Regions from separate parts of the Homo sapiens genome. Here all the other regions are linked to region 5. The links are contacts of gene promoters, found by promoter capture Hi-C in blood cells and fetal thymus (Javierre and others, 2016). All regions are on one chromosome and are shown on one strand. The core of a region is centred on a gene start or on the middle of the fragment in contact, and the rest is flanking DNA. Distances in the headings are between cores, read along the strand shown.

Region 1 (3,743 bases), core at 576-3,075, 930 kb before region 5:
CTTTCTGAGGACATTATATCTTTCCATTTGTTTAGATTTTCTTTTTTTTTCCCCCATTTGTTTAGCTTTTCTTTTTTTTTTTTCCCCATTTGTTAGGTTTTCTTTTGTATCCTTAAGAGATGTTCTAAAATTTTCCTCAGATAGGTATTGCACATTTCCTCTTAGTTTTATATTTTAGTTGCTATTATAAATAAGGTGTGTTCTTCCATTATATTTTCTAAATAATTGTTGTTCATGTATAGGAAAATTTTCTACTTTAGTAAGGTAGAAGAATATAAAATTAAGAATTCTCATACTGTATATGGTTTTTCAGGAATTTCCTTTTGTTCAGATATATAATTATTTTATCTTCAGATATTGATAGGCTTGCCATTTCTTATTCAACTTTGGTTTGCATTTTATTTCTTTCCTAGTTTGTACTTCATTTTTTTTCTCTTGTCTGGTTGTGCTGGCTGATACTCCCTGCAGTGCTAAACAGTAGTGGTGCTAGTTGGCAAGTTGGCATTTCTATGTGGATGGTCTTCAGTGCCTTTAGGGTCTTCCCAATAAAGATCATGTCAACTTTGATCTATTTTTCCATCTCATGTTAAATAGTTGCTGATTCTTGTTTTGTTACTTTAAATTAAGAGTGAATGTTGAATTTTCATGCTTTTAAGGCATGTCTGATGGTGAAGATAGATTACCCCTCTTAGACCCATTGTAGTGAATTTTATTAATAACTTTAAAAATATTTGAATTGTCTTTGCATTTATGGAATAAACATTACCTGGTCATAATATGATGCTGGAAGTTGTCTGCCAAAATTGAAGTTAGGATTTTTACAGTTGATTCTTATACTTGTGATTAGTGTATTACTTACCTATCTTCCTTTATTTCTCCTTCCCTTGTCAGTTTAAATGTTTGGTAGAATTCCTTAAAAAAAGGTCTGGGCCAGGAGTGGTGGCTTATGCCTGTAATCCTAGCACTTTGGGAGGCTGAGGCGGGTGGATCATTGAGCTCGGGAGTTCAAGACCAGCCTGGGCAACATGGCAAAATCCTGTCTCTATTTGAAAACAACAACAACAAAAAAAGCCTGGGTCTGGTGCTTATTGGTTGGTTAGGGGTGCATATGTAGGTATTTTTTTGCTGCCTGCAACATTATTTCATCTGTGCAAATGGTTCTCTTTAGCATGTTCATCTCTTGGTGTCAGTAAAGCTTTGAGCAACTTTTTTTTTAAATAGAAAATTATCTGTTTACCCAGATTTTCATTAAAGTTATTTGCAGAAGACTTTGTGTAGAATTCTTTCTTATGATTTTTATGATTTTCTGTTTTTTTCTTTGCACATTTTTATTTTGTATTATATGTGGGCTTTCTCTCCTGCCCTTATTTTATTTTTCTTAATTGGATTAAGTAGTGGGGTGTGCAGGTGCTTAAAGTAAACTTTACCCTGTTTCACATTAAAAAAAAATTGATTGTAACTTGTATCTTTAAATGTGCCAACCCAGGCCATGTTACTAGGGGGAGCGTGAGTAGTTTCATAACTCGAATGCTTTTTTTTAAAATAGGCAATTGTGATTGAGTCATCATGATTGAGTAGCGCTTAGGAAAACCAAAGGAGATGCATTTATTTTGAGCACATTTCATGTATATTAAAGGTCATCATAGTTGTGATGACTTCTTCCCCTTTTCATTTTATGGACCTATTGTATGGTATATCATAATCTATTTCTTCTAAGGCAGGGTTATTGCTACCAGGAAACCTGTGAAACTTTTATGTAGTGTTTTTTAACTTTTCATTTGTATTCACTTTTTTTTTTTTTTTGAGACGGAGTCTCGCTCTGTTGCCCAGGCTGGAGTGCTGTGGCGCGATCTAGGCTCATTGCAAGCTCCGCCTCCCAGATTCACGCCATTCTTCTGCTTCAGCGTCCGGGGTAGCTGGGACTACAGGCACCCGCCACCACACCCGGCCAACTTTTTGTATTTTTACTAGAGACGGGGTTTCACCATGTTAACCAGGATAGGCTCGATCTCCTGACAGGTGATCCACCCACCTCAGCCTCCAAAGTGCTGGGATTACAGGTATGAGCCACCACGCCCGGCCTGTATTCACATTTTTCATTTGTCATCCTCTTCAATTCCCCCACTTCCAATAACTGAGAAACTTAAAACCTTAAAATAACCACAAAACTGCCTAACAAGGAGCAACCTCTCTTACTAGTACATTGCTAATGTAACCATTAAATAGATAAAATACTATTCATAATATGTGAAATTAAGTGGAAAGATGTTATGTGTGTCTGTGACCTCCCAGTGTTCTAATGCTTACTGGTAATCAGTTGGTTCTCTCATCTTAAGTATTTCTCCTAAATCAGCTTCATTTGTAAGGTGAATGGTTTAACATAGATCTGTTGTTTGTATCAACAAAATGATAATGTTATTCAGAGGTAGGGGCAAGTCCAGGTCTTGTGGGGGCTTAAAGCTTATGCAATTTAGAGGCCTTCTTTAATAAGGAATACAAAGTGATCCATGCAAAAGTAAGTACAGGACCTTGGAAGGAGCCTATGCAAGTTTGGACCCTGAAGTTTAACCTTACTGGCTTCATGGTCAATCTGTCTTTTGCTCAAAGACCTTGAACTGAAACCTGGAGTGATGACTGAGAAGAATATAGCAGGGCTGCTTGGCTCTTTGGACCAAAAAAGAGAGACCATTTTCTATAAACCTTGCCTGGCTGACGGTCCAGGTTAATAAAGATGTAAAAATGGTAGAAGGTGTGAGAATATATCTAAGAACAATAACACCAACAACAAATCAAGGGGGATTATCCTTTCTAAACCTTGACTATGTCATCTGTGAGATGTGTAGGGAAGCTGCTTCTGCCGTGTAGAGGCCTTGAAGAGTAAGGATACTGGCAGGATGCCTGTGCACTGATGTTACAGAGTCTTAGCAGAGGGCAGAACGGTCTCCTTGGACAACGTGGACCTGGCTGAACTACAGCACTGGGGACCACTTGGTGCACCACTGCCCAGGGCATGGTTTTGTTTGTTTGTTTGTTTGGCTTATTGTAGGATGGCCCAGAGATTCTAAATGAGAGGAATTTAAGTGGGTTCCAAGCTGTAAAAGATTCCTGCCTCAGTTAAAAAAAAAAGGGTGAATTGTGTCACAACTTTCTGGGAAGAATGATCACGTGTAAGTGAATTGTAAGTGCATGTCTAGATTAATGTTAGATAGGGGCCATATATAGATTTTCTTGTATCAATTAAAGTTATCTTTCTTCCCTCAAAGGTAGGAGAAATGCTAGGAAGAGCTGCTACTCAGGGCTTTCTGTTTAGCAAGGAAGAACTGGGGGTGGTGTTGTATTGACGAGAAATATCTTACATATTTGGGATTCGTCAGTGGGCAGGTATTGGTTAGAGCGATGTGAAACTTGAGGCAATAACATATGAGGAAGCACTTGGTTTTGGAGTCACCGACTTGGTTGCAAATCCTGTCTCAGTTCCTTCTTCTCTCTGGCCCCAGGCAAGTTACTCAACCCCTCTGCACTTTAATTTCCTCATGTATAAGTTGGAGATAATACAGAATACCTCATAGGATTGCGAAGACTACAAAAGTGTAGGTGTCAAGGGTTTTATATACAGCCTGGCATCAGGAGACACTCAGTCAATGTCAGCTGCCTTTTAGTTTAGGAAGGAAGATTTTAAAATATACATGGGAAGATAGGATTGGCTAGAGCCTTTAATTGAAACTATAGCTAGAAATTTGGGA
Region 2 (3,776 bases), core at 645-3,144, 890 kb before region 5:
ATTTATCTTTCTGTGCTTGGCTAATTTCACTAACCATTAATGTCCTCCAGCCTTAGCCATGTTGCTGTGAGTGACAGGATTTCATTCTTTTTATGGCAGAATAGTATTCCATTGTGTATATACACCACATTTACTTTATCCATCCATCTGTTGATAGACACAGGTTTATTCCATATCTTGGCTACTGTGAATAGTGCTGTAATAAACATGGCAATGCAGATATCTCTTTGACATTCTGATTTTCTTTCCTATGGAAAAATACTCAGTACTGGGATTGCTGTGTCATATGGTGGTTCTATTTTTAGTTTTTGAGGAACATCCATACTGTTTCCTATAATAGCTGTCCTAATTTACATCTTCACCAACAGTGTATGAGTCCCCCTTTCTCTGGACCTTTGCCAGCATTTGCTATTTTTTGTCTTTTTGATAATAGCCATTCTAACTGGGGTGAGATGCTATCTCATTGTGGGTTTGATTTGCATTTCCTTGAAGATTAATGATGTTGAACATTTTTTGTAAACTTGATCATTTGCATGTCTTCTTTTGAGATGTCTATTCAGATCATTTGCCCACTTTAAAATCAGATTATTATTATTATTATTTTGCTATTGAGTTTTTTTAGTTTGTTGTATGTTCTGGATATTAATCTCTTGTCAGTGGCTAGGTGCAGTGGCTGACACCTGTAATCCCAGCATTTTGAGAGGTGGAGGTGAGAGAATAGCTTGAGGCCAGGAATTTGAGATCAGCCTGGGCAACACAGTGAGACCCCGTCTCTACAATTTTTTTTTTATATCAGCTGGGTATGGTGGTGCATATCTGTAGTTCTAACTATTTGTAAGGCTGAAGCAGAAGGATCACTTGAGCTCAGAAGTTTGAAGCTGCAGTGAGCTATGATCACTGCACTCTAGCCTGGGTGACAGTGACACCCTGCTCAAAAAAAAAAAAAAAAATTCCCTTGTCAGATGATTAGTCTGCAAAAATCTTTTCCCATTCTGCAGGTTGTCTCTTTAATCCATTTATTGTTTTCTGTGCTGTGCAGAAGCATTTTAGTTATATATGATTCCATTTGTTTATTTTTGCTTTTGTTTCCTGTGCTTTTAAGGTCTAATTCATAAATTTTTTGCTCAGAACAATGTCCTGAAGCATTTCTCCTATTTTCTTCTAGTAGTTTCATAGTTTTGGGTTTTTAAAGAAGACCAATGTCCTGAAACATTCCCTCTATTTTCTTCTAGTAGTTTCATTGTTTTGGGTTTTTCATTTAAGTCTTTAATCTGTGTTGAATTGATTTTTATACTAAGGATCTAGTCTCATTTTTCTGCACATGGATATCTAGTTTTTCCAGTACCATTTATTGAAGATACTGTCCTTTTTCTCATTGAATGTTTTTGGCACCTTTGTAAAAAATCAGTTGGCTTTAAATACATGGATTTATTTCTGCATTGTCTATTCTGTTTCATTGGTCTATTTTTCTTTTTATGCCAATATCAAGCTGTTTTGGTTAATATAGTTTTGTAGCATATTTTGAAGTCAGGTAGTGTGATGCCTACAGCTTTGTTCTTTTTGTTCAAGAATCATATGGTTTTTGTTTTTCATTCTGTTGATGTGATGTATCACATTTATGAATTTGCATATATTGAGCCATCTTTGCATTCCTGGGATAAATCCAACTTGATCATGGTGTATATTTTTTATGTGCTGTTGAATTTGGTTTGCTAGTATTTGTTGAGGATTTTTGGATCTTTGTTAATCAGATATTTTGGCCTATACTTTTCTATTTTTTATTGTGACTTTGTCCGGTTGTATTATCAGAGCAATGCTGGCCTCATACAATGATTTTGGAAGAATTCTCTCCATTTTAACTTTTTGGAATAGTTTGAGAAGCAGTGAAATTAGTTCTTTTTAAATAATTTTGTAGGATTCAGGAGTGAAGTCATTTGTGCCTGGTCTTTTCTTTATTGGGAGATGTTTTATTACTGGTTCAGTCTGGTTACTTGTAATTATTCTGTTCAGGTTTTTCATTTCTTCTTGGTTCAGTCTTGGTAGGTGGTATGTGTCCAGAAATTTATCCATTTCTGTTAGGTTTTTCTAACAGAAATTAGGAAGTAGAGTTGTTCATAATAGTTTCTAATGATCCTTTGTATTTCTGTGCTATCAGTTGTAATGTCTTTTTTTTCACTTCTGATTTTATATATTTGGGTTTTTTCTCTTTTTTCTTAGTCTAGCTATTCCTTTTCAAATTTTGTTTATTGTTTCAAAAAAGCAGCTTTTTGTTTCATCTTTTTTTTTTGCATTTTTTTGGTCTTAATTTCATTTATATTTGCTCTGATATTATTATTTTCTTCTACTAATTTTGGGTTTGGTTTGTTCTTGCTTTTCTAGTTCCTTGGGGTGCATTGTTATTTATTTGAAATCTTTCTACTTTTTTTGATGTATGTGTTTACTGATGTAAACTTCCCTCTTAATACTGCTTTTGCTGTATCCTATAGGTTTTGGGTGTTGTGTTTCCACTTTTATTTGTTTAAATAAATTTTTAAATTTTCTCCTTAATTTCATCATTCACTCATTGGTCATTCAGGTGCATGTTGTTTCATTTCCATGTATTTGTACAGCTTCTAAAGTTCCTCTTGTTGTTGATTTTTAGTTTTATTCCATTGCGGTCAGAACAGATACTAGATGAGATTTTGGTTTTTAAAAATCTGTTGAGACTTTTTTTGTGGCCTAATGCATGGTCAGTCATAGAGAATGTTCCATGTGCTGATGAGAAGAATATGTATTTTACAGCTGTTGAATGAAATGTTCTTAATGTCTGTTAAGTCTTTTGGTTGTAGTATGTTTAAATTGGATGTTTCTTTGTTGATTTTCTGCCTAGATGATCTCTTCAACGCTGAGAGTGGGGTCTTGAAGTCCCCAACTACTATTTTATTGGAGCCTATCTCTCCTTTTAGATCTAATAATATTTGCTTTATATATCTGGGTACTCTAGGGTTGGGTACATATACATTTATAATTGTTATATCCTGTTGCAAAATTTATCCATTTATCAGTAAATAATAACCTTCTTTTTTTTTTTTTAGACGGAGTCTCGCTCTGTTGCCAGGCTGGTGTGCAGCGGTGCGCTTGGCTGATTGCAACCTTTGACTCCCAGATTCAAGCGATTCTCCTGCCTCAGCTTCCTGAGTAGCTGGGATTACAGGCACGCGCCACCATGCCCAGTTAATTTTTGTATTTTTAGTAGAGACGGGGTTTCACCATGTTGACCAGGATGGTCTTGATCTCCTGACCTCATGATCCACCTGCCTCAGCCTCCCAAAGTGCTGGGATTACAGGCATGAGCCACCATGGCTGGCCCTTTGTCCCTTTTTTTAAAATAGTTTTTTTACCTAATGCCTATTTTATCAGATATAACTATAGCTATTCCTGCCCACTTTTGGTTTCTGTGTAGAATATCTTTTTCTATCCCTTCACTTTTGATTTATGTGTATTTTACAGGTGAAGTGAGTTTCTTGTAGACAGTATATGGTTGGGTCATTTAAAAAAATCCATTCAGCCAGTGTATATCTTTTGATTAGGGGATTTAATCTGTTTAAGTTCAAGATTATTATTGACAGGTGAGGACTTTATTCCTGTCATCTTGTCAATCATTTTCTAATTGCTTTGTATAGCCCCTGTTCTTTTCTTTCTCTCTTATCATTTATCTTTGAAGTTTAGTGGTTTTATGTGGTGATAAGATTTGATTTATTTCTCTTTCTCCTTTGTATGTCTGGTGTATCAGTGAG
Region 3 (3,799 bases), core at 1,069-3,568, 970 kb before region 5:
CTGTTGGCTGTGACCCTGGTGATGAGTGAGGAAAGGTATCACACCTTTCCTTACGAATACTGAAAATCTAAAGCTTTGTAGTGTTGGGGTATTAGAAGTCCCAGGGGAAGAGGTTCTGATTAACTGGCACTAACTGAAGTTTATCAACAGTTAAATTCAAATGCCTACTGAAAGAGGCTGGACAGGTGATGAAAAGCAGAAAGTAAGCTGGGGTTAAGACACATTTTGATAAGTACTTAGGTACAAAGTACATGTCATTTTCTTCTTCTTCTTTTTTTTTTTTTTTGAGACAGAGTCTCACTCTGTCACCCAGGTTGAAGTGCAGTGCTGTGATCTCAGCTCACTGCAACCTCTGCTTCCCGGGTTCAAGCAATTCTCTTGCCTCAGCCTCCTTAGTAGCTGGGGTTACAGGTGCACCACATCTGGCTGATTTTTCTATTTTTAGTAGAGATTGGGTTTCATTGTGTTGGCCAGGCAGGTCTTGAACCCCTGACCTCAGGTGATCCACCCACCTCAGCCTCCCAAAGTGCTGGGATTACAGGTGTGAGCCACTGCTTGATATAAGAGATATGTCAATGCCAGGGTGATGACAAAAGACCGTGGAAGAGATGGAGAGGGGACACACTGAAGAGGTTACGTTCTGCAGACATGTGAGCTCAGGGTTGCCTGTGTTGGGGCTCAGGACCCACCACCCCAAAACATGACTATAGGAGACCAGACTATGACACCTCAAAATATACTTCTTTGGCATATTTCAAGCTGGTTATTCTAAGGAACTGCAGACACAGGAGTAGCTCTGAAAAGCTCTTGTTTTATAAAAGAAATTTAGATCTATAAACGAAATCTACATTAGTAAAAGTATCTATCAGGAAGCTCTGAAAAACTCATTTTATAAAAGAAATTTAGATCTATAAAGGAAATCTACATTAGTAAAAGTATCTGTATCAGGAAGAGGGCTACTTCAGATTACTTTTATTACCTGAGAGACTTCATCTGCATAACAAGATAGCTTTCGGCCGGGTGTGTTTGCTCATGCTTGTAATCCCAGCATTTTGGGAGGCTGAGGCAGCCAGATCACCTGATGTCAGGAGTTCAAGACTAGCCTGGCCAACGCAGTGAAACCCTGTCTCTACTAAAAATACAAAAATTAGCCAGGTGTGGTGGTGCACGCCTATAGTCCCAGTTACTTGGGAGGCTGAGGTGGGAGAATTGCTTGAACCCAGAAGGCAGAGGTTGCAGTGAGCTGAGATCGTGCCACTGAACTCCAGCCTGGGCGACAGAGCGAGACTCCATCTCAAAAACAAAAACAAACAAACAAACAAAACCCCCCAAAACAAGACAGCTTTTATCTACCATGCATTTCCTCCCCTCACCCTCTCATAACTTGTCTTTACCACACCCCAAAAGCTCCAAGCCCGTATTCCCTTCAGTAGCTCAGAGTGCTTTGAAAGCTTCAATCACCCAGCCCCTTTTCAAGTTCCATATTTTGTGGGACTCTTGTACATATATATGTAATTCAGTATGTTTTTTCTCCTGTTAATCTGCTTTATGTCAATTTAATTTATAGCCCAGCCAAAAGAGATATACGAGAACCGAGAAGGGTGGAGGGAAGTAATTTTTTTCCCTCTCTAACACCTGATTTTAGAATAATATAGGCATTTTAATTTTAGTGTCAATATTTTAATATGTGGGCAATCAATTCAAATTTTTAAAATGTATTTATTTACTTTTTTGAGACGAAGTCTCCCTCTGTCGCCCAAGCTGGAGTGCAGTGGTGTGATCTCAGCTCACTGCAGCCTCTGCCTTCCGGGTTCAAGTGATTATCCTGCCTCAGCCTACCAAGTAGCTGGCATTACAGGCACCCACCACCACGCCTGGCTAATTTTTGTATTTTTAGTAGAGATGGGGTTTCACCATGTTGGTCAGTCTGGTCTCGAACTCCTGACCTCAAGTGATCCACCTGCCTTGGCTTCCCAAAGTGCTGGGATTATAGGCATGAATCACTGAGCCTGGCCATTTATTTATTGAAACAGGGTGTTGCTCTGTTGCCCAGGCTGGTGTGTGGTGACATGATCATGGCTTACTGTGTAATCACCTAACAGGTTCTTCCTGTGGGCTGCACAGACAAAATCAATTCACTGTGACCATGACATTGTAGTAAGGAAAGAGTTTAATTGACATAAGGCTGGCCACACCACATAGGGAGATGGAGTTATTACTCAAATCAATCTCCCTGACAATTCAGAGGCTAGGGTCTTTCAGGGATAGTTTGGTGCACAGTGGGCTAAGGGAATGGGTGCTGCTGATTGGTTGGAGAAGCAATCATAGGGCTGTGGACAATGGTCCTTGCACACTGAGTCTGCTTCTGGGTAGGGGCTACAGGACCAGTTGAACTAAGAGTTGAGGGTCTGGGTGGAGCCATCTAGTTCTCAGAAATGCAAAAGTCTAAAGAGATGTCCCAAAAGGCCAATCTTAGGTTCTGAAATAGTGAATTGGAGAAGTTGCGAGTCTTGTGACCTCCAGAATAATGGCTGGTAATTGTTTAAGCCCACATTTTAGCAGAATTCGGGCCCCTGTCATCCTTCTAACCTGCTGGACTTTCTTTAGTTTTAGAAAGGCAGTTTAGTTTTGGGAAGGGTTACTATCATTTAAACTACAAATTTCTCCCAAAGTTAGCTTGGTGTGCACCCAAGAATAAGCAAGGATAGCTTGGAGGTTAGAAGCAAGATGGAGTCAACTATGTCAGATTTCTCTTACTGTCATAATTTTGCAATGGCAATTTTTCAACTGCACCCTCTATCTCCCAGGCTCAAGCAATCCTCTCACCCCAGCCTCCTGAGTAGTGGGGACTACAAGTGTATAACACTTGGCCTGGCTAATTTTTAAAATTTAGTTTTTGTAGAGATGGGGTCTCACTGTGTTGCCCAGGCTGGTCCAAACTCCTGGGCTCAAGCAATCTTCCCACCTCAGCCTCTCAAAGTGCTGGGATTGCAGGTGGGAAACACTGCCCAGCCAACTCAAAGTTTTTAGAGAACATTTTATGAGACCTTTGTAAAGGGCATCTGGCCTGTGGTTCTCTGGCTTGTGACTGCTGATTTACATATAACCAGTATATAAATGAGTTGGGAAGAGGAGAGCCTGGGCTTTCTCTTCAGAGGTTTCTCTTCACCTGTGTACCCACTCCTTCAAGCTTCATACTTGCCCCTGTGAGACCCTCCATTCAATTCAGCAAGTGTGTAATGACAACATCGTTTGCCCTGGGATGAAAATTCTCACCTCTAGCTCTCACTACTACTTTGAAGACTTGATATAGTAGGTTCAGGTATCAGATACTATGACAGTGGTTCCAATAAGACTAGATTAAGTCCCAGCACTTTGGGAGGGCAAGGCAGGCAGATCACCTGAGGTCAGGAGTTCAAGACCAGCCTGGCCAACATGGTGAAACCCAGTCTCTACTAAAAATACAAAAATTAACCAGATGTAGTGGCGTATGCCTGTAATCCCAGCTACTTGGGAGGCTGAGGCAGGAGAGTCGTTTGAACCCTCGAGGTGGAGCTTGCAGTGAGCTGAGACGGCGCAACTGCACTCAAGCCTGGGCAACAGAGCGAGTTTCTCTTTAAATAAATAAACAAACAAATAGATAAAGTTTAGCCTAAAGCTACCTCCTTACATATTTTAAGTTTGGCCTAAAGGTTTATCTGTACATAGCAAACTGGATGTGTAAATGGATGTGTAAACAGACTATAACCTACTCTTGTAGCAAGAGCAAGAAGCCAACTCTCAAGACAGCAGCCATACT
Region 4 (3,317 bases), core at 250-2,749, 950 kb before region 5:
TGTCTCAAAAAAAAAAAATTTTGTCTCTGCCCCTTCAAGGGTGCTTATGTTCAATAATAATTATTACAGTACTTTTTAGTATAAAAGCCCTTGGGATTCTCTAGAATGAGAGACTTGAAAAGTTCACTAGCAGTTTTTGAACTATGATGTTAATAGTGAATAATTTGGGAAATGTGTAAAAAATGTATAAAGAAAAAAATAAAAAAATCACATCTGGGTACGTTTCTTTATACTCCTAGGTATATTCAAAACAAAGTGAGAGTTGTTTTCCAGTTCTTAAATTCCCTCAAATCTGTAGATCTTCATAATTGTAACATTTTCCTATGCATCTTCATAAGTAACCATGTGGACAGATCATTTTCCGTAGTTCATGATTTCTTTTTCATTCTTTTTTTTTGTTTTTTTGTTTTTTTGAGAGAGTCTCACTCTGTTGCCTAGACTGGAGTGCAGGTGCCCGATCTCTGCTCACTGCACCTTCTTCCTCCCTGGTTCAAGCAATTCTGTTTCAGCCTCCAGAGTAGCTAGGATTACAGGCATGCGTCACCATGCCTGGCTAATTTTTGTATTTTTAGTAGAGATGGGGTTTCGCCATGTTGGCCAGGCTAGTCTTGAACTCCTGACCTCAAGTGATCCACCCTCCTCGGCCTCCCAAAGTGCTGGGATTACAGGCATGAGCCAATCGTGCCTTAGTTAATGATTTCATCGAGTCCTTTCCAGCTTTCCAAGTCTGTGCTGCCTCTTTCTGCAAGCTTATTTCTGATGCATCTTTGAGCGTGTCCTACCCCTGAATGTCTAATTTGTTGTGAAAATAATTGTTACACTTTACGCCCTACGTTTAGGCCCTTACATGTGTCATCTTGTTTAATGTGACAGCAACCCTATGGGATAGGATCTATTATCCTTGTTTTACAATGAGGAAACGGAGGCCTATAGGGAATAAGTAATTTCAAACCCAGACATTCTTGATGCCGTGACCTGTACTCATGCCCCCCATGCTTCACAGCCTTTTCAAGGAGTAATTTATCAGGTCACCAATGCATGTGAGGCAGTTGAGAAAGGGTAAATATTGTCCTTTCCACATTTTATTAGGGTATTATCAGTAAGTGATATAAAAGTATACTTGGGACTTGGAATATTGCTATATCAGAGATTCCCTGGGGTTAGCTCTTTAGTTCAGACACTGCCAGAGCTTGATGTGTAATTTCACTTCTGTATAATCATGGTTGAAGTGTTTTATGTTGTGTCTGTGGGACAGTTTAAATTAATATTTCTTGTTTTTGAACAGTGGGCCACAATACGAATTGAAAAAGGAACCCCAAAGGAGTCGATTCTTAAAAACTCTGCTTCTGTTGGTGAGTTTTCCTTTTCATTATGATTGTTACCATATTTAAATTGGGTGGATGTAAACCTACCCAATTTGAACTTGAAATATGCAGAGAGCAGTGTGTTCTATAGGGTTTGGATCTTTCATAATTCTGTCAGTGTAAAATTGCAGCTGCCAGAGTTTTCATGGACTTTTTATTGTAAAGGTGGTAATATGTGTTAGCTCATCTATATGTTCTTATAGGTATTGTTTTCCTTTCTAAGGGCATGTATTTGAAGATGGCTGTCCGTGGTTTTAAAGATGTAGTCGATGGCCAAAAGAAAAAAAAAAAGAAAGAAAAAGGCTAATGGGAGTTCCTGGGAGTTAAAACCTATTATTGAGGTTTCGTTAACCAACTTGTGATTCTCAAAGTATGTTCCTCAAAGTACTCTTTTCTGCTGAAGGCTAATTGGTAATACATGAAATAAAAAATAATTTTCTCGTGAAATAAGTTTAGGAATCATCACATACTATACTTGCCTTTGGAGAGTATTAGTGCCTACTAATAAAGGCTCAGAAAAGTCCTGCAATAAAGAAACATGCTTGACCAGGTGCAGTGGCTCACGCCTATAATCCCAGCACTGTGGGAGGCTGAGGCCGGCAGATCGCTTGGGCTCAGGAGTTCAAGACCAGCCTGGGCAACATGGCGAAACCCTGTCTCTACAAAAAATACAAAAATTAGCTGAGTGTGGTGGTGCGCACCTGTAGTCCCAGCTACTCAGAGTGGGGTCCTGAGGTGGGAGGATCACTTGAACCCTGGAAGTTGAGGCTGTAGTGAGCTGTGATCATGCCACTGCACTCTGGCCTGGGCAATACAGTGAGACCTCATTTAAAAAAAAAAAAAAGTCAAACTATCAAATACTTTACTGGAAGGAATTTATCTTCTGGAAGCTTTTCTAAAAGGAATTGTAGAAATTGTATTCTATAGTGAGTTTTGGAAATAACAAAATATTTGAAAACATTGGAGTATTTTTGTATAATTGGATTATGATTTTCAAATGATTGAAGCAACTAGTAGAGCTTCATGGTGTATACTTAAACACCCAAATATTATCACCAATCACATTTTTACCAAGTCCGGATATTTCTGGCTATATTTTATCCTTTTTTTAATTGCCAGATACCTTCTCTGAAATATAGCAGCTCTATCATTTAAAAAAATTATTCTGGTTCATTAAAAAATGTATGTCCTTATGATTTAAGGAAAGAACAAACTTTGTTGCTGGTTTTCTGTTGTGCTTGGTGAGACTCTGAGCTGTTGATCTTGAGAGAAAATCAGTGGGCCTTAATAGATTGGGGTGATTGTGGTACATGTTTTGGGCCATGAATTTTAATTTAATTTAATTTTCTTATTTAAATTAAATTAAATTAATTAAATTTTCTGCTTTTGAGACAAAGTCTCCCTCTGTCCCCCAGGCTGGAGTGCGGTGGCGAGATGTCGGCTCACTGTAACCTCTGCCTCCCAGGTTCAAGTGATTTTCCTGTCTCAGCCTCCTGAGTAGCTGGGACTACAGGCGTGCGCCACCATGCCTGGCTAATTTTTGTATTTTTAGTAGAGAAGGGGTTTCACCATGTTGGCCAGGCTGGTCTCAAACTACTGACCTCAAGCGATCCTCCCACCTCGGCCTCCCAAAGTGCTGGGATTACAGGCATCAGCCATTGCACCCGGCCCAGCCATGAGTTTTAAAGGACACAAAGTATTTCAATTTGGCAGGTGATGGGATTAAAAAATCAGTAGATGAGAGGGTCTAGTAGCGTGGATTTAGTTTTTTTTTTTTTTTTGCCTATACAGAAATGAGAACTTTTTGAATATTTATACTTGTTGGATTACTATTTTTATTATAATCTTTGTCAAATATCTGCTTTTTCTGTTTTTGATCTTTGTCTTTTCTATGGTGTCTCCAGGAAAGAATGGAAGTGAACAGGAGGAGAAAATAGAAATCATAGTATTTTA
Region 5 (3,710 bases), core at 1,015-3,514:
GCAAATACACTCACTTCCCGGGCGGTGGAGGGCTCACCGCTGCCGGGCCTCACTGCTTCGAAGAGAGGCAGCGGGTTAGGCTGGCGAAGGCGGAATGGGGCGCTGGACGACAGGGAGGAGCCGGGAAAGCAGAGATGCAGTGGCCTCTCCTCCCCTCTCCTCCCCATCTTTCTAATCCAGGCCAGGCCTGCGGTCCTGGCCAGGCCGTTTCAGGAACAGCCAGGGCCTCGGACGAGACACACGTCCCTCACCGCGTTGTGGTCCACACGAACACACACACACCGGCTCAGCCCAGGCGTACTCAAGACTTAGAGAGAGGGAGGCGCTTGGATACAGCCACGCGAGCTCAGAAAAGCGAGAATCCCTTTCTGGAAGCCCTGGCCCAACCTAACTGGTGTGATTCCGGCGCTGTCAAACTACTGGGGCGGGCCACAGGATGGACTGAGCGGCATGCACACCAGGGGCCGCGACCCGGGAGTGGGCAGAACAGGCACGGCAGGCAGGCATCGGGGCGCGGGTGGTAGTACTCACGAGGGGTACAGGCCAGGCGTGCGTCCCTCCAGGGCGGGCTCTGCATCACTCCGGGCCAGAAGATGGGCGTCCGGCCAGGCAGCTCAGCCAGCGGCTTGGGGTACCGGCCCACGGCGGCCACGGCCGCGGCGCTGGGGCTGAAGTAGAGCCCGGGCGGCGGCGGCGGCGGGCTCAGGCTGCTAAAGCGTGGCAGTCCGGCCAGCAGCCCCGCCGGGGATGAGGCGGCGGCTGCGGCCGCGGCAGCAGCCGCGGCGGCGGCAGAGGCGGAGGAGGCAGAGGCGGACGAGGAAGAGGAGGAGGAGGAACCGGAGGGCGAGGCGGAGGGCAGGGCGGCCCCCGAGGCCACGGGCATGGAGGGCCGGCTCAGGATATCGTTGATGCCGTGTGGGGTGGCGGCCGAGAGCTGCTGCGGGGGGCTGCCGAGGGATGAGAGCCCCCCCGTGGCCGGGGGCTTCAGGCCGCCTGGGTTGTGGGTGCCCAGAGGCGGGGAGGGCGACGAGGAGGACGACGACGAGGACGAGGAGGAGGGGGGGCCGGCAGGCAGCGGGGGATACGCGGCAGGGTACAGCGGGGTCTTCATCTCGGCCATGCTGTGCAGGGCGGCCAGGGGAGGGCTGCTGAGCAGGAATGCGCTCTGCCGGGTGCCCTCCATTGCCCCCACCGCTAACATCCCACGGCCACGCCGGAGACCGTAGCCTTGCAGCGAGGGCGCTGGCTGGTGCCCCCCGCGGGGCTCAGAGGAGCCGGAAGCGCCGAGGGCGCGAGCGGAGAGGCACTCGGCGCGCCCGGAGGCGAGCTGCCAACTGAACCAAAAATGCCGCTGCCGGGAGTTGCTCGCCTAGCTGCGCAGCAGAGATGTCCAAACCCTCCACGCGGGAGGCGGCAGCTCGCCGAGAAAAGCAGGCGTCCCGGCGGGCTAGGCAGTCCTTTCGTTCCGCGAGTCCTAGATTCGATCCCTGGCTATTCTCTCTTCCTCACTTTTCCTAGCTGTTCAAAGTGCGCTACTTCTCATCTTCTGCCCCCGGGAAATAAGCAAAACAAAACCCAGGCTGGCTCCGGAGAGTTTGTAGCAAAGTTAGTTGCCGAATCTCCACTTTGAAGTTGGAGGGTGGGGGTGGCTTGCTTTCTTTGGGGAGGTTCAAAGGACGCCTTGTGCAGCCCGTGGCGCTCCTCTGATCTTACTGGGATGCTCTGCTCTTTCGGTCGCGCGGCTGATTCGCATTCGACGCTCACTGTGCCCGGGGAGAAAGCGCATCCAGCCCGCGGGAGATCTAGCCTCTGTGCGGGCTTCCTCCGCCCACGCTGCCCCGGGCTGCTGCGCCAGAAAGGGCAGTGCCACGGATCCCCGCGGCTCCCAGGTCCTCACCTCCACCCGCCTTGCCCTCTGGCCCACGGGGCACTGGAGTTGCAATATTGAAAAGAAAAAGGGGGAGGAAAAACACAGAAAAACAAAAGACTAAGTGTGAAAAGTCTGACGGCTGGGTTTCGGCGCCGCTCGTCAGTCCACTTCTGCAAACGGGCCCGGCGACCCCCGCCCCACCCCCGCTCCCTCTCTCCCTCTCACTCTCAGCCTTTGACTCTCCTCTCTGGCATTTTCTTCGCGGCTTCCCAGGCTTCGGTCTTCTAAGTCCTGTCCTCTGGCCAAACTGACCCTCTCCGCGGCTCCTCCGCTCTTTCTCTCCTTTCCTCTCTCCCTCCGGGCCTGACAGTTCAGATGAAGCTCTCAAAGGTAATAAAACATTTGCATCACTCCCTACCCCTCTTTAGCTGGGGGACGAAAGGGAGGGGGAAGTGGGGGACCAAAATGAGAACTTTGAGGGACGTCACTCCGAGGCTGCGGGGGCCGGCGAGCCGGGCGCAGGCCGGGGGCGTAACCACCGTGTCCAATAGCTCGCCGCCTCGATCCTTGCGTCGCCCCTGGGGCTCGCCCACTCGGGGGCGCCGCACCCTCTGATTGGCTGAGGCGGGCCAGGCGTAGGGCCGCGCCCGCCTAGTCCCCTCCCGCTCCCTACTTCTTTCTCCTGTGGGCGGGGCCAGGAGGGGCGGGAGCTGGTGAGTGGTGCGGTTCCGCGCTGGGGCCAGTGGCCGCCTCAATTAATTGTGCTAAATAAAATGAGAAAGGGGAGGGGGAAGCAGAGACGAAGAGGGTATTACTTTTTAAAGAGAGGAATAATGAAAACTCAGCCCTTTTATGGAAAAGCAGTTCATATTCTTCCCTTGCTTCCCCACTAGCCCGCTCGCGTCATCCTATCCCCTTCCCCCACCAGCTCTGGAGGGCGCCTCACCTCGAACCAAGTCTGGTCCCTTGTAAAATGGAGCTAATGGAGCAGGCAGCCGGCGCAGCCCTGGCCTGGCTCCTTCTTTTGAAGGGATTAATTAAAGGCCATCTGGGCTCTCCCAGAATTGTGTAAATTAATTTGTTGCTCCTTAAGCCTTATAGATGTCCTTAATCCCCTTGTAGGCCAAAGGATCGTCCTCTTCCATCTTTCCACCTCCTGCTTTCCTTTTCTGTTCTTTCTCCTCCACTTTATTTTTTTTTTCATTCCCGAGTTCCCCCCCGCCCGTCGCTTCCCACCGCGTTCATTATCATTTATGGGTTACTCAATTCGCTGAAAACTGAATCCGTTTAATAGGAATATTTATCTGTCAGATGATGTTTATACCTGAGAACAGTGAGGGAGTTTTTTCCCTTAACTTTTCTCCCTTTGATTATTGTTGTTATTTCCTTTGGGTTTACATGGGGGTAGAATCATCAAAATTCAGGCGGAAACTTTAGATACAGAAGCATCTAGGTACACCCTGGGAACTGTAAGCTTTTGAAAACCCTCTCCAAAACTCTGGCGCCTACTCCCAATTCTAGAGTTGCTACGGGAGATGGAGATGTACCAGCTCCTGGACAGTGGTGGTGGGATGTCTATCTAGAGTTTAGGAGTTGAAGGGTGGCTTCCTTTACTCTCTAAATCTCTTCCATCTCTGGCTGATCTTTACGTTCCCGACAGGGTTGAACTGCGGGCTGGAGAAGGAAAACCCTTTGACAATTTTGAGAATTCAGCATGTTAAAGTAACACACCATTGGAAGGTGGTCGCTACAGCAAATTTGGATGAGATCATTAATTACAATTTTAATGAGCAGAAAACAGAAATAAACGCAATAAATGGCTCAAGAATAAAATTTGATC
Region 6 (3,287 bases), core at 389-2,888, 990 kb before region 5:
GGCGGGCTGAGGCCTAAAATGGTGTCAGCCCCAAGTGAAGATGAGGCAAAGATTTTATAAACAGGAAGTGTCCTAGTCTGACGTAACTGCTACGTCGTACCTGGATGGCCTCTTTCTTGAGCTTCAGGCGTACGTGACTTCCGGCTGGCTCTCTTCCTGCTTCTGCTGTCTTGCTGACACACGCTGCTGATGCAGGTGGCCTTGCGCCTTGGGACTGGGCCTGAGCAGGCAGGAGTCACTCATCCCCTTAGGCTTTCAGGCCCTGGGGAGAATCTTACATTCTTGTCTATTTGGTTATAGCAAAGGGAAAAGGAATGACTTTCTCAATAACTACTTCAGGCATGACATAGGGGGTGGCGTGGACACCTTGGAAAAAGAAAACCTTAATTTTTTGGGTATTCTTGAGAGATGGGTTGGTAGCCACCACGTCGTTCTAGCAGGAGCATTGTTTGGATTGTCTGGAAACACATCTGTGCCTGCAAGACAGTTATGTTGAGAGGACAAGGCGGTGTTGACAGGGAGAGGCATGGCCTCATTTGCTGCTTCACAAATGAAAGACCATGTCTGGATTAAGGAAGGGAGGTAATTCTTGAGTGGCTCAGAGTCTGGTAAGGGTGGAGGCCCCAAAACAAAAGTTTGGCCATACATGATTTCAAAGGGACTATAAAAAGAGGATGTCTTTGGTGTTGTGCAGAGTCTCATGAGGGCAAAAGGGAGATTTTTTTGTTCACGACTGGTGGGTGTCTAGAGCCAGCTTGGTGAGTTGGGCTTTAAGGACAGAGATAACTTTTTAAACTTTGCCTGAAGATTGAGGCCTGTAGGGTGTGTGGAGGACCCATTTTATACCTAAGGATGTAGAGACGCCTTGGGTAATTTGGCTGGTGAAGGCAGGTCCGTTATCGGACTGGATGGCTATTGGGAGTCCGAAACCGGGAATTATATGCATGATGAGAGTTTGTGTGACAATATTTGCACTTTCTGAAGTTTGTGAAGTTGTTGGGAATGCTTCTACCCACCCGGAGAAAGTACAGACAAAGACTAGAAGATAGCAGAGCTGTTTATCGGGTGGCATGTGAGTGAAGTCTACTTGCCAATCTTGCCCAGGTACCTGGCCCTGGGCTTGGTGGGTAGGAAAAGTCCGAGGCAGGAGGGAGCCCTGGGGTGACACTGAGTGGCAGATAGAGCAGGACTGGGTAATTTCTCAAACACGGCTGGAAAGGTGAGGACAAGTGAGAATAGGGCGGAGAAGTTGCAGGAGAGGTTTGTAACCAACATGGAAAGAGTTGTGGAGGCTTTGGAGGTGAGGAAGGCTTTGAGAGTGAGGAAGAATAAAGCTCCGTTTCTTGACATACCATGGTCCTTGCTTTTGAAGGTTTTGGGCCCGGAAGTCCTCCTTTTCTTCTGAGGAGTAAAGAGGAGAGAACAAGGATAGGGACAGAGCATGGCTGGGTTTAGATGGGAGCTGGTTAGCATGGTGATGTGGGGAGTTTCAATGAATAGAGCATACAGTTGGAGGAGCTGTGGGGCAGAGAAGAGACTTAGTACACTGCGGTGAGCCAGCATGTCTTTGATGTTATCGGTTGAATAAACTGTTAGGTTGGCATGGACAGAAAGTTTTAGGCTTTCAAGGCCTAAAAGGAGAGCAGCTGCCACCAATGCTCAGAGACAGGCAGGCCATCCGGGAACTGTGGCTTTAAGCTGTTTAGAGAGGTAGGCAACAACCTGGAGAGTGGGTCCCTTAGACTGGGTTAGAACGCCTAATGCAACTCCACGCCGTTCATCGCTATAGAGGGAGAAAGGTTTGGTGAGGTCTGGGAGAGTGAGGAGAGGGGCTGAGATGAGAGCCTTTTGGAGTAGATGGAAAGGTTGGGTAATAGGCTGTGCAGGGTTTGAAGGCCCATGGAGAGGGCCTTTAGTGGCTTGGCATAACGGTTTGGCAAGTAGAGCAAAGGAGGGAACCCAGAGTCTAAAATATCCTGCTAGTCCTAGAAAAGAGAGAATGTCTTGCTTAGTTTGTGGAGGCGGGAGGGACTGGAGGAGGGATACGTGGTCGGTTGTGAGCCCTCAGGTTAGCGGGGTAAGGGCTAGGCCTAGATAGTGAATGAGGGGGTGCATATTTGTGCTTTCTTAGGGGAGACCTGATACCCCTGTTCTGCCAAGAAGTTTAAAAGAGAGAGATACTATGGGCGTTGCAGTCTCTTTGGGAGGGGCTACACAGGAGCAGATCATTAACACATTGAAGGAGAGTGGACAGTTTTAGGGATAAGGTACAGAGGTCACAAGCAAGGGCCTGTCTGAAAAGGTGGGCGCTGTCTCTGAAACCTTGAGGTAGTACGCACCAGGTGAGTGGACGTGAAATGTGGGTGTCAGGGTTTTCCCACGTAAAGGCAAAGAGGTTTTGGGAATCAGGGTGTAAAGGAATTGTGAAAAAGCATCCTTTAAGTTTAGGACAGAAAAATGGGTGGTATTGGAGGGAACTGCGGAAAGTGAAGTACATGGGTTAGGAACTACTGGACATACTGGGAGTACAGCTTGGTTAATGAGCCTGAGGTCCTGGACTAAGTGATTAAGTTCCATCTGGCTCTTTAACAGGTAGAATTGGTGTGTTACAAGGGGAGTTTGTTGGGCAGAATAGATGACTGGTGAGGAGGTGAGAAATGATAGGCTTTAGGCATATGAGAGCTGCTTGGGGGATGGGATACTGCTTCTGTGATAGGAAATGGGTGGGCTGTTTAAGGGTAATGTGGACGGGGCTATGGTGTTCTGCGACTGAGGGTGTGGAAGTATCCCAAAAAGCGGGGTTAACTACGGATGGGGGATAAGAAAAGGTTGCATGTTTTAAGGTGGGAGGTTGGAGGAGTAGAAGAAAGTTAGAAGCCCCAGAGGGGTCTGGGTTGATGTGTTGGATACGATGGGGAACGTGGAAGTGGAGAGTATTGTGAAGTTTTGAAAGGATATCTCTGCCTAGGAGCGGAGATGGGCTCGAGGGCAGGACTAAGAAAGAGTGAGTGAAGGAAAAGGTGTTCAGGGAGCAGAAAAATGAAGTGGGGGGCTCGGGGTTTGGAGACTTCTCTATCAATTCCCACAACAGAGACTTGGGAGGACTGGATGGGTCTTGAAAAATTAGGTAAAGCAGAGTAGTAGGTTGCTCGGTATTAATTAAAAAAACATACTGGCCTACCCGCCACCATCAGGGTTACCCTTGGCTTGGATGAAGCGATGGTAGTTGCCGGGGTGTCCGTTCCAGGGCACCATCAGTCTTCAGCGGCTAGGCCAATGAGATCCGG
Region 7 (3,843 bases), core at 456-2,955, 910 kb before region 5:
AAACTATTGATTTTTCTTCTCTATTAACTAAATCCTATTTATTTTGAAAGATTTTGTCTTAACTTTCCTTTTTGAATAATTCTATTTACATTTCTAGAAATTACTACTTTCCTTTTGAAGTCATTGGAATGTATATTAAAAGCACTTTTCAAAAAGAAGGCAATGTCTATATGGAGGTTAGAGGTACTGTCAGTCACCTTGTTTGCTAACTTCTGAGTTATCTTGAACCATGCAAAAGGACAACAGTTAGATTTGCATTAAAAGATGTCTACATGGTGGTATATTTTGGTGTTCTTATTATGAAAGCACCTTTAAATCTATTCCCTTCACTAGCCCTCTTAACCCTTTGGTGATTATATAGATTTAACTTGATAGTTTTGTGAAAATTTCCAGGCCTTCTCTATGCATATACAGACTTGTTACACATGTGTTTGTTGTTGTTTTGCAGATGGCATCATATTCTGTACTTTATTCTGAAACTTACTTTGCTTTTTGCCTCTTAAAGTGTGTCGTGGAACATTCTTCCGTGTTAGATCTATATAGATTTACCCAGTTATTTTAGTGGCTGCATCATATTTCATCATGTGGATACTCTACAACTTATTTACAATTTTATTATTTAGGAACTTTTTGGTTACTTCCATGCTATGTGTCAAAATCTTATATGGCCCTCTCTTTTCTTTTTCAGGGTTACCTTGGCTTTCATTGGGATCAGTTTGCTGGTTATAGGAACTACACTGGTTGGGCAGCTGCCAGACAGCAGGTGAAATGTTTCCTTCCATCCAGCCATATATAGGACTGTCTTTTTTCTTAGCTGTGTCCACAAAGAGAATATTTGTTTGATTCCTATGTATTGCATTATTATTATTATTATTTTTGAGACGGAGTCTCGTACTGTCACCTGGGCTGGAGTGCAATGGTGTGATCTTGGCTCACTGCAACCTCCGCCTCCTGGGTTCAAGAGATTCTCCTGCCTCAGCCTCCTGAGTAGCTGGGATTACAGTCACCCACCACCATGCCCAGCTAATTCTTTGTATTTTTAGTAGAGACGGGGTTTCACCATGTAGGCCAGGGGGGTCTCGAACTCCTGACCTTGTGATTTGCTTTCCTTGGCCTCCCAAAGTGCTGGGATTACAGGTGTGAGCTACCACACCAGGCTGCATTGCATTAAATTTATGTTCTCTACTCATTTATTAGAATCCTGCTCACTTCATCTTCATAGTCTTTGATTTTTTTAAATCATACTTCCATATTAATTGAAAGAAGTTGTTTTTTCAAAGGAGAATTGAAGAAAGAAAATGAACTGAGTTACCTAAGAGAGTCTTATATATTGGCAAGCTCATAAGACCAAGACCAAAGAAGCTTCACTTTATCTCGTTCAGGAATTTGTCATAATAGCCTAGTGGTTTTGAGCCACTTTTCATTAGAGTTATGTCCAGTTTTTTTGGTAGACTTTTGTGATCTAATACTAAATGTGCCAATGAGACTATAACAATTGACTATAAGACTATAAGAATTGAACTGTACCTGTTCACCAGAATAGAATGTGGTATGCTGTTGTGAAAAAGCACATTAAAACCTTTATTATATTGTTTCTTAAGAGTGCCCAGAATGGCACAATAAAATGTTTCTATTTCCTTCAGCCTCAAAAACTGGCTGAGTGAACTGGTCCATCTGACTTGCTGCCGGATCTGTGTGCGAGCCCTCTCTGGTACCATTCATTATCATAACAAGTGAGTATCTGCTCCAATGTGCCTGTCTTTTTCTAGGTCAATTCAGCATGAGATTGACAAGGAAGCATTGGAAGTGGTTGGGAAGAAGTGGGTGGAGTCAGAGTGCTTCCAATGTGTTCATCTCTACTTCTCAGTGTGGCACAGGCATGATGCACAAAAACACTAAATAGCAGTGTTTGCAGAAAGAATATAATAATAAACACGTAGTTGTGCTCAATAATTGGGCATTTATGGTGTGCAGGCCAGACCCTGTGTTTCTTGTAGCTCATCCCTATGAGATAGGCACTGTTAACCCATTTTATAGGGGAAGAAATGTAAGCTTTGGGATTTGTTGTTTAGGGTCACAGTGAATAAACAATGGAATCAGGTTTTGAGCCATGTCTCTCTGATTTTAAAAACAATGAAGTTGACAGGTCTGTACTGTGGTGGAAATAGGACTAGACGTGGAGTCTGGAAATGTGGTCTCTATTCTTAGTCCTGCTACTTCTAAAATTCCATAATTGAGCCTTAAAACAAAATTCTGCTTTTCTCTCCCAGAATTGTAGAGAATGAAGGCAGCAAAGGAAAGGAATTAGCTAAGTGAAAGTGATTTTGATTGCATTTGAACTACTTTTCTATTATCTTAATTTTTTTTAGATTTAACATCATTTTAAAAGTTCTAGGCCAAGCTTCTCTTTTTTACTGATTTGGTCTTTCTTTCTCATTTGTAGAAGGGAAACATTTTGCCATTTGGCTTTACCATGTGGTACCAACATAAAAGACCCTTTAAACATTTTAAATTATATGATGTTGCAATTGGACTATGAGTTTTAAAGTGAAGAGTGAAAGAAAACACTCTGGCAGGTGTGCAGTCAGAAGAAACACCTGTAGAAAAGGCACACTTATTACATAAAGAGGAGTTCCTAACTTCTTATAGAATTGCTTCTCATTTTGAAGAAAATATGCTAAATAATTGTGTATTTGGTTCTTTCTTCTCTGTATAGGCCCAAAGAAAACTACTTTGCTTTATTGGTGTCAAATACTGGTTTCACTCTAGGGTAGAGATCAACAAACTGAACTGGGAGCCTATAGGCCAAATCTGGCCCACCAGCTGTTTTCTGTAAATAACATTTTATTGGAACACAGCCGTGCTCATTCACAGCCGTGGCTGCTTTTGTGTCACAACAGCAGAGTCAAGTAATTGTGACAAGCATTGTCTGGCTTGCAAAGCTTAAAGTATTTGCTGTCTGGCCCTTGATAAGAAAAGTTTGCCAACCTCTGCTCTAGGAGGATAGGAGGGAGGAAATTATGGTGAATTTTCTCCGTGGATTACCATGAAACCACTAAAAGTGATGTATATGAAGATCAGAATAATGTGAAAATACTTCAGATTAAATAAGTGAAAGCTGTGTATTATCAATGGAAAAATCATGGGCCCCCTACCACACTCTCATCACACTACCTAGAGATCACCTTTTAAAGATGGGCCCGTGTACCTCCAAACTTAATTTTTAAAAATATACTTAAAAAAGACCAGGCACGGTGGCTTATGCCTGTGATCCCAGCACTTTGGGAAGCCGAGTGGGGCAGATCACTTGAGGTCAGGAGTTTGAGACCAGCCTGGCCAACATGGAGAAACCTCATCTCTGCTAAAAATATAAAAATTAGCTGGGCCTGATGGCACATACCTGTAATTCCAGCTACTTGGGAGGCTGAGGCAGGAGAATTGCTTGAACCCCTGGAGGTGGAGGTTGCCATGAGCCAAGATTGCACCAATGCACTCCAGCCTGGGCAACAGAGTGAGACGCGAAAAAAAAAATTACATATATACACACACACACACTTAAAAAAGTAAGATGAGTATTTACATGCTGTGGCTATTTTAGAAGACTTCGAATTTTCCATTGTTTGTAATTGCAGGCAGTACAGACCCCAGAAGGGAGGCATTTGTGTTGCCAACCATACTTCCCCCATTGATGTTTTAATCTTGACAACGGATGGATGTTATGCTATGGTAAGAGCAGCTCATTGATATTTCAAGTAGTTGCATGTTTTATGGATTGATCAAACTTTTTATTTTGGCATAAATTAGCAAGTTGGTTTTATGTTAGAAATTTGACTGCGTTATACT

What was found. Contacts are between HindIII fragments. The CHiCAGO score rates a contact against its expected background, and 5 or more counts as called.
Region 1: a contact is called between a fragment that was not itself captured here and the fragment with the promoter of NKX6-1 in region 5, in 1 of 17 cell types (monocytes). The highest score is 7.7, in monocytes.
Region 2: a fragment that was not itself captured here is called in contact with the fragment with the promoter of NKX6-1 in region 5 in 1 of 17 cell types (monocytes); the score reaches 5.2 in monocytes.
Region 3: a fragment that was not itself captured here is called in contact with the fragment with the promoter of NKX6-1 in region 5 in 1 of 17 cell types (monocytes); the score reaches 9.4 in monocytes.
Region 4: a fragment that was not itself captured here is called in contact with the fragment with the promoter of NKX6-1 in region 5 in 1 of 17 cell types (monocytes); the score reaches 5.1 in monocytes.
Region 6: a contact is called between a fragment that was not itself captured here and the fragment with the promoter of NKX6-1 in region 5, in 7 of 17 cell types (M1 macrophages, monocytes, M0 macrophages and 4 more). The highest score is 8.9, in M1 macrophages.
Region 7: a fragment that was not itself captured here is called in contact with the fragment with the promoter of NKX6-1 in region 5 in 1 of 17 cell types (activated CD4 T cells); the score reaches 5.2 in activated CD4 T cells.

Annotation. Positions count from the first base shown.
Region 1 is chr4:83,566,723-83,570,465 of GRCh38, forward strand. The region is part of intron 2 of GPAT3 (glycerol-3-phosphate acyltransferase 3); the gene reads left to right. Among named protein-coding and RNA genes, the nearest start is that of GPAT3, 32 kb to the left of the region's middle. The HindIII fragment of the contact is 1,265 bases long and covers 1,194-2,458 here.
Region 2 is chr4:83,609,281-83,613,056 of GRCh38, forward strand. No RefSeq gene overlaps it. Among named protein-coding and RNA genes, the nearest start is that of GPAT3, 75 kb to the left of the region's middle. The HindIII fragment of the contact is 5,435 bases long and covers 1-3,776 here.
Region 3 is chr4:83,523,247-83,527,045 of GRCh38, forward strand. No RefSeq gene overlaps it. Among named protein-coding and RNA genes, the nearest start is that of GPAT3, 11 kb to the right of the region's middle. The HindIII fragment of the contact is 1,739 bases long and covers 1,450-3,188 here.
Region 4 is chr4:83,543,251-83,546,567 of GRCh38, forward strand. GPAT3 (glycerol-3-phosphate acyltransferase 3) reads left to right here. Exons shown (of 12, transcript NM_032717.5): 2 at 1,286-1,352. Among named protein-coding and RNA genes, the nearest start is that of GPAT3, 8.8 kb to the left of the region's middle. The HindIII fragment of the contact is 1,505 bases long and covers 748-2,252 here.
Region 5 is chr4:84,497,028-84,500,737 of GRCh38, forward strand. It overlaps NKX6-1 (NK6 homeobox 1), which reads right to left and starts at 2,265. Exons shown (of 3, transcript NM_006168.3): 1 at 532-2,265. The coding sequence starts at 1,201. The HindIII fragment of the contact is 5,978 bases long and covers 1-3,342 here.
Region 6 is chr4:83,505,005-83,508,291 of GRCh38, forward strand. No RefSeq gene overlaps it. Among named protein-coding and RNA genes, the nearest start is that of ABRAXAS1, 22 kb to the left of the region's middle. The HindIII fragment of the contact is 4,036 bases long and covers 1-3,287 here.
Region 7 is chr4:83,586,567-83,590,409 of GRCh38, forward strand. It overlaps GPAT3 (glycerol-3-phosphate acyltransferase 3), which reads left to right. Exons shown (of 12, transcript NM_032717.5): 4 at 689-763; 5 at 1,644-1,733; 6 at 3,633-3,726. Among named protein-coding and RNA genes, the nearest start is that of GPAT3, 52 kb to the left of the region's middle. The HindIII fragment of the contact is 690 bases long and covers 1,361-2,050 here.